2 separate regions of the Homo sapiens genome follow, and region 1 is linked to region 2. Evidence: promoter capture Hi-C in 16 types of primary human blood cells and fetal thymus (Javierre and others, 2016). All regions are on one chromosome and are shown on one strand. The core of a region is centred on a gene start or on the middle of the fragment in contact, and the rest is flanking DNA. Distances in the headings are between cores, read along the strand shown. Region 1 overlaps SLC9A8 (solute carrier family 9 member A8). Region 2 holds the start of KCNB1 (potassium voltage-gated channel subfamily B member 1).

Evidence for each region. Contacts are between HindIII fragments. The CHiCAGO score rates a contact against its expected background, and 5 or more counts as called.
Region 1: a fragment that was not itself captured here is called in contact with the fragment with the promoter of KCNB1 in region 2 in 1 of 17 cell types (endothelial precursors); the score reaches 6.8 in endothelial precursors.

What each region holds. Positions count from the first base shown.
Region 1 is chr20:49,877,604-49,883,399 of GRCh38, forward strand. It overlaps SLC9A8 (solute carrier family 9 member A8), which reads left to right. Exons shown (of 16, transcript NM_015266.3): 12 at 378-460; 13 at 3,321-3,432. Among named protein-coding and RNA genes, the nearest start is that of MIR12122, 17 kb to the left of the region's middle. The HindIII fragment of the contact is 159 bases long and covers 3,103-3,261 here.
Region 2 is chr20:49,478,303-49,484,080 of GRCh38, forward strand. It overlaps KCNB1 (potassium voltage-gated channel subfamily B member 1), which reads right to left and starts at 4,366. Exons shown (of 2, transcript NM_004975.4): 1 at 3,612-4,366. The coding sequence starts at 4,178. The HindIII fragment of the contact is 15,223 bases long and covers 1-5,778 here.

The DNA of each region.
Region 1 (5,796 bases), core at 1,932-4,431, 400 kb after region 2:
TCTGCAGTCATTTGCTCTGAATTTTTGCCACTTTGCCGCAGTTGGGGCCCTTGCTAATGACAGTGTTCAGCAGATTGACAGATTCTTGTGTTTATCATCTTCCCTGGGTGGGATCGTGTTTATTTGCAGAAGTATTTGACAGTTGACTCATTACATTAAGAGATTTCTGAATACCAGGGACATGTAGCTTATGTAATAGAAAAGAATGAGAGAATTTAAGCACAAGTTTGACCAAGATATTGGCTGCAGGATTTTCAAGAAAATAAGGAAAGTGTTGTATTGGATTCTGACTGTGAATGTTTGCTTGCTTAATAGTTTAGTACCATATTGGAATGAAATCATTGGGGTTGAATAATCCATTCTTTGGTTTGTTTCAGAAACATGTGTGTTTGCATTTCTTGGCCTGTCCATTTTTAGTTTTCCTCACAAGTTTGAAATTTCCTTTGTCATCTGGTGCATAGTAAGTATTTTCCTTTTTTTTTTTAAATTTAATTACTTATTTGTAGATCAATAAACACATGTTCCGGATTCATTTATGTAACTGTTAACTGTTCAAAGTCAACAGCTACATAGACACTCTTTTGTTTAAAGTTTCTTTTGTTAAAAAAAAAAAATCACAAACATACAGTAAGGGGGCAGGGGTAGAATTAAGTGAATAAATATCCCCAGAAAGGACTTTTGCTTGTTTTTTAAGATTTTTAATGGCCTTGAATATTATGGTCTTTAAATAAAAGTACAGGTTTGTAAGTTTTTGTGTGAGGAGGTAAAAGCAGATTTCAAAATTGAATATGTAATTGATCATAACCATGTAAAAATATTATGCACAGAAAAAAGAAAATATGTAAAGAAAATATAGCCACATGTTCACAGTGGTCATAGAGTTGGGATTTCTTTCTCTTTTCTGCTTTTTCTGGATAATTTATTATGTACTTCTTACTGCAGTTTTCTTCAAATTTGTCTATTTATATTTGTCTATTTGTCTGTTTATAAGATATTGTTCCTGCAACCTGGGTACTTCCATCTCTCAGTCAGCAAGAGCTCATTGCTCTTGGTCACTGTTATTTGTCCTCCAAACTCAGGTTTCAGGGCAAGAGAGAAGCAGCAAAAGTCCTTTACAGAAAGTATAATAGCCTAGGCTGGGCGCGGTGGCTCACACCTGTAATCTCAGCACTTTGGGAGGCCGAGGCTGGCGGATCATGAGGTCAGGAGTTTGAGACCAGCCTGGCAAACATGGTGAAACCCCATCTCTACTAAAAATACAAAATTAGCCGGGCGTGGTGATATGCGCCTGTAATTCCAGCTACTCAGGAGGCTGAGGCAGGAGAATCGCTTGAACCCGGGAGGCGGAGGTTGCAGTGCAGTGAGCTGAGATCATGCCATTTGCACCCCAGCCTGGGCAAAAAGAGCGAAAGTCCATCTCAAAAAAAAAAAGTATAATAGCCTTTAGTGTGGCCACTGGGGAAAAGGGACACATTTGATCAAACCTGAAACAAGTGTAGGCATGGAAGATTGGATTTCAGTGGGTGAAACAGGGAGGTGACTATTTCAGCCACAGGTTGGGAGGAAAATGAAAGGATGCCCTGGGGTGACAACTCAGTTTTCTCTAAGCAGTTAGGCCCAGGCTGGCCCTGCAGCTAGTGGAGATGGCCTATTCAGGTGGGTTACAGTTCCTGCCCTGTAAACTCAATTTAGTGGTCAAGAGCATGGGCTTTGGGGTCTGAACCAGATTTGAGACTTGGATCCATTACTTCCTGCCTTGTCAACTTGGACCAATTACTTCATCTCTCTATACCTCAGTTTCCTTGTCTATAAACTGGAGACAACAATACCTACTTTGTAAGACCTTTGCAAGGATTTAAATTTAGCAGGATAATGCATGTAAAATGATTAGCATGTTGTCTGGCATAGAAATGTTTGATGATTGGAAACATTTACTCTTGGCCAGGCATGGTGGCTCACGCCTATAATCCCAGCACTTTGGGAGGCTGAGGCGGGTGGATCACTTGAGGTCAGCAGTTTGAGACCAGCCTGGCCAACTTGGCGAAACCCCGTCTCTACTAAAAATACAAAAATTAGCCGGGCATGGTAGCACACGCCTGTAATCCCAGCTACTAGGGAGGCTGAGGCAGGACAATTGCTTGAACCCGGGAGGCAGAGGTTGCAGTGAGCCAAGATCACGCCACAGCACTCCATCTCAAAAAAAAAAAAAACTCTCAAATTCATGCTTGTTAAAGGAATAAACTTAAAGCCTAAAGAATGTACTGTACATGTCTATATCATCCTTTTCAAGTAGTTATGGTGAGAACCAAGATGAAGAAAATGAAAGTAAAGTAATAAATGTCCTAAGAATCCACTTAGATAAGATTTAAACTTTAGGCTGGGTGCAGTGGCTCACACCTGTAATCCTAGCACTTTGGGAGGCAAAGGCAGGAGGATTGCTTGAGACCAGGAGTTTGAGACCAGCCTGGGCAACATAGCAAGACCTCATCTTTAACTAAAAAATTTTAAAAAGTAGCCAGGCATGGTGGTGCATACCTGTAGTTCTAGCTACTTGGGAGGTTAAGGTGGGAGGATCACTGGAGCCCAGGAGGTTGAGGTTGCATTGAGCCACAATCACACCACTGCACTCCAGCATGCGAGACAGAGTGAGACTTTGTCTCAAAAAAAAAAAAAAAAGATGTAAACTTTACATAAAGCTGTACTTTGCCAAGACTAACATGCCTTTGGAGATGGAGAGGAACCAAAAGCCACAGCAAGCAGCTGGCAGGCTAAGCCGGGGCATGTGGCCTCCTGATAGTCCCTACCTCTGCGTTCCTCTTGCTCAGAGAGCAGTGTTTCCATGCATGGGAGGTCCTTCATAGCTGCCCTCCTTTCCCTGAGGGAGAGGCAGAAACACCTTGTCTGTCCCCCTAGTCCTGGTATGATCAATGCAGCCCTGTCCCAAGGAGGGGCACCTTGGGAGTCAGGTTGCCCTTAAACTAATCTGTGAATACTTCTGTACAGCCTCTTGGCATTCAGTTTTGTTCTGCTGTCATTACTAAAGCCCTTCCTGATACCTCGTCCGTCCTCTCTTTTCTGGCTACTAAGAAAGGTAACGTACAAAGCTTTATCCTTTCCTAGATGCATAGAATCCCGCAGCTGTGGCAGCACGCCCATGCTGGGTCTCTGACGAGCATGGTGTTGCTCGTGTCTTTTGTGGCTGAGGGGAATACTGCATTTGTACTGGATGTGTTACACAGTCTGCATTAGCTTCATCCAAGAAGCTTCAGCTTGAAGAGCCAGATGTTTTCACCTAAGACTTAGTTTGTTGCTATCAACAGGTGCTTGTACTATTTGGCAGAGCGGTAAACATTTTCCCTCTTTCCTACCTCCTGAATTTCTTCCGGGATCATAAAATCACACCGAAGATGATGTTCATCATGTGGTTTAGTGGTAAGTCAAATCTTGGATAAATGGGGTGGGGAAGTACCTGTTAAAAGCACGCCCCATACAGGGAGAGCTGTGGTTCTCTGCTAGCGCCCTTGGCAAAACCACAAGTAATCAATACTCCCGTTTAATGGCACCCACTGCAATCAAGATGGTGCCCCTCACCATGGTGCTATGAAGTGGGTGAGGCTTGGTTGGAAGAGGGCAAACAACATGCCCAGGGTCACGTGACCACTGGAGGCAGAGCCGGGATTTCTGCCACTCTCTTCTGAACACCATAGTGCAGTCCGGGATGCAGCTGGGCGTGCTTCAGCGCCTCCCTGGGGGTCTTCTAGGCTGAAGTAATAATGGTCTCAAGGTAGAAAAGGTGAAAGTTGAAACTGTTTCATACCTTATGTTAGTTTTGGATATTTTTCCTTTTAGTCACAAAGTTCTAGTAGTTTAATTTGAATGTTTCAGTTGCTATTTAATCACTTTTTAAAGGACGGAAATGATTTCATACATCTTTGCTTCTAAAGAACTGGATCCATAGGCATCCTTAAATTTATTTTTGAGCAATACATACTGTTCTTTATGCTTTCTTGCTTAAATATTATAATCAAAGTATTTTCCGTGTGGGTTGGGTTATAGCAACACACTATAATGTTCTCTATCCAAAGGCATATCTGCAAGTTTGTCTCAGATTTCTCTTCTTTCAAAAGGCCATGTTTAAAAATGTATATGTTTCATATATATGTACGTATGTGTATATATACATATACATTTATATGTGGTGAGAAAAACTCATTTTTTTCCTAATCTCTTTTGCCAGTGAGGCAAACTACTTTGTAAATGGTTGCAGAAGTGTGTCAGAGGTTTTTGAAGTGATGTGGGCTATTTGGGAAGGGGGGCATGAGGATAAGAGAGCGTTATGGGGAAGGTTGGAGTGTATTTGAAATGGCGGGGGCTGTCGGCTCCTGTTCTCTCCCAGGCTCCCCGGGCTCTTGCTCTGTGGGTTTCCATCCAGGCTTTCCTGGATCCTCAACGAGGGGCACTGAACAAGCCTCTGCTACCGGCCCCTCCCATCATCATTTAAGCAATCAGAGCTTCTCCTCCTTCCCACAAAACACCAGCAACTTCAGCCAGAGTTCCTCCTCATGTCCCCCGCAGCTGTGTCCGCACCTCTTTTGCCATGGCCAGACCCTTGCGAGTGAGCCGTGCTCGCTCATTTTCTCCACTTCTTCACCGCCTGTCCACGGGGCTGGAATTGGCCTTGGCAGGTCACCAGTGACCTCCCGCAGCCAGACCTGGAGGGGAGGCGTCCGCCCCCGTCCTAGCCTACCTCCTTCCCACTGCCCCTACCTTCTGGCGAGGACCACTTCACTCTCTTCCCCGGCCTCTGGGCCATGCTCCTCCTTTCTCTCCTTTGACGTCTCCTTGGGCTCGTCCCCCTTCGCTGACCCCTCAAATAGTGGCTTCTTCAGGACTTGGCCCCAGCCCCACTTCTGTTCACGTGTTCTGCACTTCACTGAGTGCGCTCACCCGTCCACTGGCCTTCACTTCCACCTAGTCCCAAAGCTGTTCCCGCGAACCCAGACCTCCCTCTGGGATCCGTACTCCTGTTTCCAGCTGCCTGTTTGGATGCCGTGGGGATGCTGTCATCCCTATGCCTTTGCATCCCCCTTGCCCAAGAAATCCTACTTTGAATTGCCCGGTGGCCTGGCTAGCCGGTACTAAGCACTTGCTGGGTACACACCCTGTTAAAGCACATTACATGTCCCGTGTCACTGAATCCTCTGGCCCGTGACAGGTTTAGAGAGGCTGAGAGTCCCTTGTCCTCACCATGTCTCTGTATTATGTGCCCTTTGCTCTTGCCCTGCCGTCTCCCCATCTGGGTCTGGCCTGCAGCAGCCTGGCTGCCCTACCCCATGGTGATGTGAGCCTCCCCGCTTTCCTGTCTGGGGAAGGTCCTGGTGCTGTCTGCACCATGCCCCCCCCCACCCCCCACCCCCCTCCCCCCACCATCTCTTCCAGGTAGCATTTCACACCCCTTATTTGCTGTGCCTCCTCCCAGCTGCTCTAGGAGCTCCCCAAGGGTGGGGCTAGGACTGCCTGTCCCCTCCGTATGGCACCAAGGAAGCCAGGAAACTTCTAACAGAGGAATGTGCTGTTTTCCAGCTCAGTCCATGCCCCTCAGTTGTGCCCTAGTAGCGTCACAGAGGACCAGCCAGCCTGTCATTACCACCTAAGCAGCCCACAGCCCCATCAGTGCCACCAGGGGCCTCCACAGGGACAGCATCTCGAGATAGGAGGGGTACTGGACACATTGCATCTTGTGCTGTTGTGGGTATTAGTTGAGTGGCCCTGGGCGGGCCATGCTGCTCTTGGCCT
Region 2 (5,778 bases), core at 3,116-5,615:
AAAGCCTGTCGAGTTTTCCGAGAAAGCCAAAGCCCCGTGGTAGCCCCAGCACCGCAACCCTGTCACACCAATGGGGCTGTCCCCATCTTCTAAACAAGAATCAATCACACTGCCTTTTGCCTAATGGGTTTTGATTTTCGCTCCCCTGATGGCAAAGCCTAGGGCCTGTGCTTTGGTTTGTCTCCGAGTTGCCAGAACATCCCATCAATTATTAACAGTGTCAGCTCAGTCTCCCTGGCCCTGCTGCTCTCAGAAGGAAAGGGTTTGCAGCAACTCGGCCCACCCAGCCCTAGAAAAAAGACTCTTTTCCTTAGCATTTATAACAACAATCCCCACCTGCTATGTGCTAGGCTTTGAGCAAAATTTTGACAAATGTGATTTAATGAAGACCCTGTAAGGTGAGCCTTTTATCTCCATTTTACAGGTGGAAGGTTGGGACTTGGAAAGTTGGAGAAATTAGCTAAAAGCTATGGAAGTGGGGAGTGGCACAGAACCAGATCCATCCTTGCTCTTCAGCATATGAGATATGGCCACTTTTGTATCTTACAATCACCTAGAAATGATCCTCCATTTGGTCCTGTCACTCTGTGAGTTCTAAGCAATTTCCACAGGCTTTGCTTGTTTTGACAAGCAAGGCATCCAAGCTGGGGGGATGGGTGGGGATGGGATGGGCAAGGTGCAGATGACTCAAAGGAGGCCAGAGGCACAGGGACCTGGGTTGCAGGTGGGCAGTGAGAAGGGGTGACAGGTCCCCAAACCCTGAGACACAGTGACTGACTGCTTGCTTGCTTGCTTGATTCATTCATTCGTTCATTCATTCATTCGTTCATTCATTCATTTATTCATTCCACATGCTCCTCAGTGCCAGGCACCATCATGGGTGCTGGGAATCAAGCAGTGAATCAACTCATGGTACTCACATTCTTGTGGGTGTGAAACAGAGACACACAAAGAAGGAAATATAATTTCAGATGGCGTTTAAGGCCTCTGCAGGAAAGGCATTGCATGATGCAACAGAGAGTGAGGGGAGGGAAACTGTTTAGAACAGCGGTCAAGGAAGGTCTGTATGAGGAGGGGACATGTGAGCAGGGACCTGCTCAAATGAGGAAGGGGGAGAAGGGGCTGGCCAAGGGGGAATCTGGGGAAGAGCATTCCAGGCAGCGGAAACAGCAAGTGCAAGGGTCCTGAGGTCAGATAAACTCTGGCCTGTTTATGGAACAGCAAGGCCAGTGGGGCTGGAGCCAAGTGAACCAGAGGAGATCAAAAGAGATGAGCCCAGAGAGGTCATGGGGGCCAGATTCTGCCTGGGCCTTGTATGCCAGGATGAAAAGTCTGAATTTTATTTTGAGTGTGATGGGAAACTTCTGGAGGATTTTAAGCAGATGAATAATGTGATCCAATTTACATTTTGAAAAGCTCACTTTGGCTGCTATGTGGGGAATGGATTGCAGGGGCAAAAGTGGAAGCCGGGAGACTGGGGAGGAGGCTGCGGCACTTGATCATTATAGAAAGAACACTCGGTTTGGATTTCTGGCTACTCCTGACTGCCTGTGGTGTGACCTTAGGCAAGTTACTTAACCTCTTTCAGCCTCACTGTTTGCGAAAGGTGGGATAATAACAGAGCTGCGTTGTTACACTCCATACACAGTAGGTGTTTGATCATTGGCAGCCAGGATTTCTATTCTGAGGGCCAGTGAGCCTGCCTCCCTCCCCATTTCAGCTCTGGCTACAGAAAATCCTAGATGGTCCATCTGCCAGGAATGTGAGCTGGCAGCCCCAGACTGGGATCATGGAGAGGTCACAAGGCTGTCCCTGCTAGCGGATTAACCCAAGGGAGAGGAGAGGTTCTTTATTCCCAAACAGCACCTCTTGCAAGCCCCGGTGCTTGGGTCTTGCTGCCAGACCAAAACATGGCCCTGTGCCTGCTTCTTCTCTGGGAGGGCAAATTGTCCAGTTCCCTGTACCTTGTTCTCATGTCTTAGGGATGGGACAGGGAGGGAGAGTCACATTTGGGCCTAAATGGGATGTGCAGTGGGAGAACCTGTGTCATGCCTGGAAATAGCAAAATAAGTCTGTTGATCCTAAGCTGATTAAGGGTGAGTGACTCTGTCTTAGGAGGAGGCTTTTTGGACACAAAATTGGGGGCGGGATTATGGAGAGAGACAGCCCACAGCCTCAGAGGAGGAAGCCAGGCCCAGGAGCCTCTACATCCTTGTTAGGGCCAACAGGGAAACGAAAAAAACACGTGGGGGCTCCCTCCACCCTCTTACCAGCCACCCCTTCTCCATCCACTCTCAGGGGCCTCTCCTTGGGTGGCTAGATCTGGAGGAAGGACCCCACGGAGTCTCCCTTCAGACTGGGACCTGCAGGTGGGCCTTCAGTGAGAACTGAGCCGGAGACCCCACAATGAAAGGCTGGGCTGGACAGGAGTCAGCCCTAGCTAGTAAGATATGGCTGGATATTTAGGCTTCCTCCTCTCCTCTTTCTTTTACCACAAATCTACTTACCTGACCCCTTTTTTTAGGCCCCACACTCAGTTACATTCTCCCCATGTTTCCCAAGTTGGTCTTGCTGGATTTCAACATCAACATCTCTCTTTTCTGGGTTCTCCGTGAACCTCACAGAACCTCTTTTATAGCCTTGCACACACTGTTTTGTCATTTGCTCCCAGCACCCAGCACTTCGGGCACATGAAGACAGGCCCCATCTTTCCCAGGCAACCCCAAATCCCAGCCTGACGTAGAGAAGTTGCTGATCAACCAGTGCCCTCCTGCCCTGCCTTGGCTCCCACCCCAAGCCTTCCTCAGTCCCCTACAGCCCCTGCCATTACCCAGCAGCACCAAAGACTCTCTGGCCCACTCTTTGTGTTCAAACTCATTCCTGCCTCCTCCTCCTCCTCCTCCTTTATTTTTCACATTGCCTCATTTTTCTCTCCTATTTTGAAATTTACATCTTGTTCCAAGAGCTGAAACATCTTTACAAGCTGCACCAAACCATTCTGGAAATAAACTCACCAAATAAATAAGTAACCAGGGGGTGACCCCTCACCCGCAAGCATCCACAACCAACTGCATGTGTCGTGTGGGTCCACACCCACCCCTCGGGGTCCCTTCTTACTTATGTTTAAACTATCTGACAGTATCTCAATGTCCTGTAAGCATGTCTGTAAGCTGCTTTTTTCCCTTGCTGGGGCAGAGTGAGGTTATAAATATGGAGATATTAAAATCACAGGGTGATCCAATCCAGCCTAGGTCTGGGACTTCACAGGGAAGCAAACCCTACTCCACCCCAGCAAGCCACTGTTGTCTCTCTGTGCTCTCTCTCTTATTCGTCAGTGTCCATCTTCTTGCTGTGGCTTTTTATGGGTCCCTGTGAAACCTCTCCAACCAAGTAGGGGTATAACGTCTTGGATAATAAAAAGATGGAGTGACCAGTGCCACATGGGAAAAGTCTGAGGGGGTTGGTCCTCACCTCTGGGGACTCAGTCCTAGCCCCTCCCCATTACTAATCTTCATCGTTGGGAACAAAGCCAGAGTCCTCCAGCAGTGGTCCTCAATATGGGGATGCAAGCAGATCCCCCCAGACCAGCAGCCCCCAGATCCCAGACTCACCTTGGCAGCCACAGAGGAATTGGGCTTCTCCAGTAGGTCCCAGAGTTTTTTCCTCTTCTCTGCGCAGCACGTGTTATCGAACTCCTCGCCTTCCCGCTCCCGTAGGGTCTCGGCCTCACGCTTGAGCTCCTCGTTCATCTGCTCTTTCTTCTGGTGGTAGCGGGCCTGGCAGCAGGACTCCAGGTAGATCTCGTCGATGCCCCAGTAGTCGAGCTCTTGGCTGAAGCTGAGCGCGCACATCTCCTCCATCATGTGCAGTCGCCCAGTGCGGTAGAAGTTGAGGATGGAGGTGAAGGCGCCCGGGTGGCGGTCAAAGAAGTACTCGTTGTCGTCGAGGCTGTAGTCATCGCACACCTCGAGCAGCGAGTCGTGCGTGTTGCAGTCGCGGAGCTTGCCCAGCCGCGTGCGGGGCAGGCGGTCCAGGGTACGCCAGAGTACCTCGTGCGCCAGCCCCCCGACGTTGAGGCGGACCCGCCGAGAGCACGCCTTGCTGCGCACGATCTCCATGGGCTCGGGCGGCAGCGAGCTGGTGGAGCGGGAGCCATGCTTCGTCATGCCCGCCGGCATCGCTGATCCGGCCGCCCCCGCCCCCCCTGCCCCCCCAGGCCGCTGTCACTCGACGGCAAGGCCCGCTGCTGCGGGGGAGGGGGGCAGGGAGCGCTGTGGGCTGCTGGGGGTGCAGGGGGCCCCGCGGGCGCGCGTCACGGCCGTCTTCTCACCTCCATCCCGACGGCTGCGAGGCAGAAAGCGAAAGCGGACGCGGGTCAGCAAACGGGGAGCTGGGCATGCTGTCCCCCCGCCCCCCACCTCTCCACCAGGCTCCCAGCCGGCCTTGACCTTCCCCCGCGCTTAAGCGGCTCAGTGGGGTAGGACGGATGGTCGCTGTCCCTCCCGCCGGTGCTGAAGTCCGCCGCACCCCATGGATGGAGGGAGGGGCCGCCCCTCGGGGCGGGGAGAGGGCCCCAAGAGATGCCCCTGGAGCCCGGGAGGCCCCACCCTGGGCTTCTGCGGCCCAGGCGCGACCCAGCCGCCCGGGGCGCTGTCCGCCCCTTAGAGTGCTGAAACTCTCTTCATTATGGGTCTCCCGATCGAGTCCCGAACCTGGCCCCGCCATGGGGAGAGAGGGGGAGCTGCATGAAAACTTTCTTTCTTTATCTTTTTCTTTCTTTCTTCTTCTTCTTTCCTTCTTTTTTTTTTTTTTAACGAGTTCTCTTCTTTTCCTTCCCCTTCTCGAGATAATCAAGATTTTGGGGGTGGGGGAATGGCAGCGGGCTTTTTTCCAAATCTTAAAAGATTTGGGGGAATTCCGGGGGTTCCAGGTGCCCACCTGTCCGAGGTCACAACAGACGGGGTGTGCACAACAGCCCCTCTGTCCTGGAGCGACCCCTCTTCCCAAACACTGGAGCATCTCCTGAGATTGCTCCAGCGACAAGGTGAGCCGCGAGGAGGAAAAGCCCGCTCTCGCCTCTCCCTCTGAGCCCCCAACCCTACCGCAGGAGGGGCGGGCAGAGTCCTCGGGATCCGCCTGCTCCGTCCTCCCCTCGCTCCTTCCCCGCCCCCTTCTCCTCCTTCTCCTCCCCCTCCTCTTCCTTCTCCCCCTCCTCCTCCTCTTCCTCCTCCTCCTCCTCCTCCTCCTACTCCTCCTCCTCGTTCCTCTCCCGCGATGGCTTTTTATAACTCCGGGTTCTGCGCCTTTCCCCGGGCTTGGAAGGGAAGGGGTGGGGGAGGTGGGAGGCGGGGAAATGAGCTAAATTTTCTGGCCTTTTCAAAAGGTGCCATCCTCCTACCGCGCACTAGTGATTTCGGGGGGTTCCCCTGAGCACCCCCTGCATGTAGGGCTCACGCCTTAGCCCCAGAATGGGGATTGCGCGTCCCCTCAGGCCTCAGCCCTTGCCTGCCTCCCACCCCGCTCCCCTCCAGCCTGGAGCTGCGGAGCCCGAGCAGACCAACAGGCCGAGCTGCGGCAGGCAAACCCCCTGTCCGTGTCCCCATGCACCCCCACGGAAGGCCGTACGCCCCAACACTCACCCCCAGGGCGGCCGCCTCCTGGGGCCAGGGACCGCGCATCGTCCCGGCCGCCCGGGCGCCCCCGCCCGTGGGCAGCGGCGGTCCCGGGGCCGGGCTGAGCCGGGCCTACCCCGGCCGGGCAGGCAACTCGCCCGGGCTG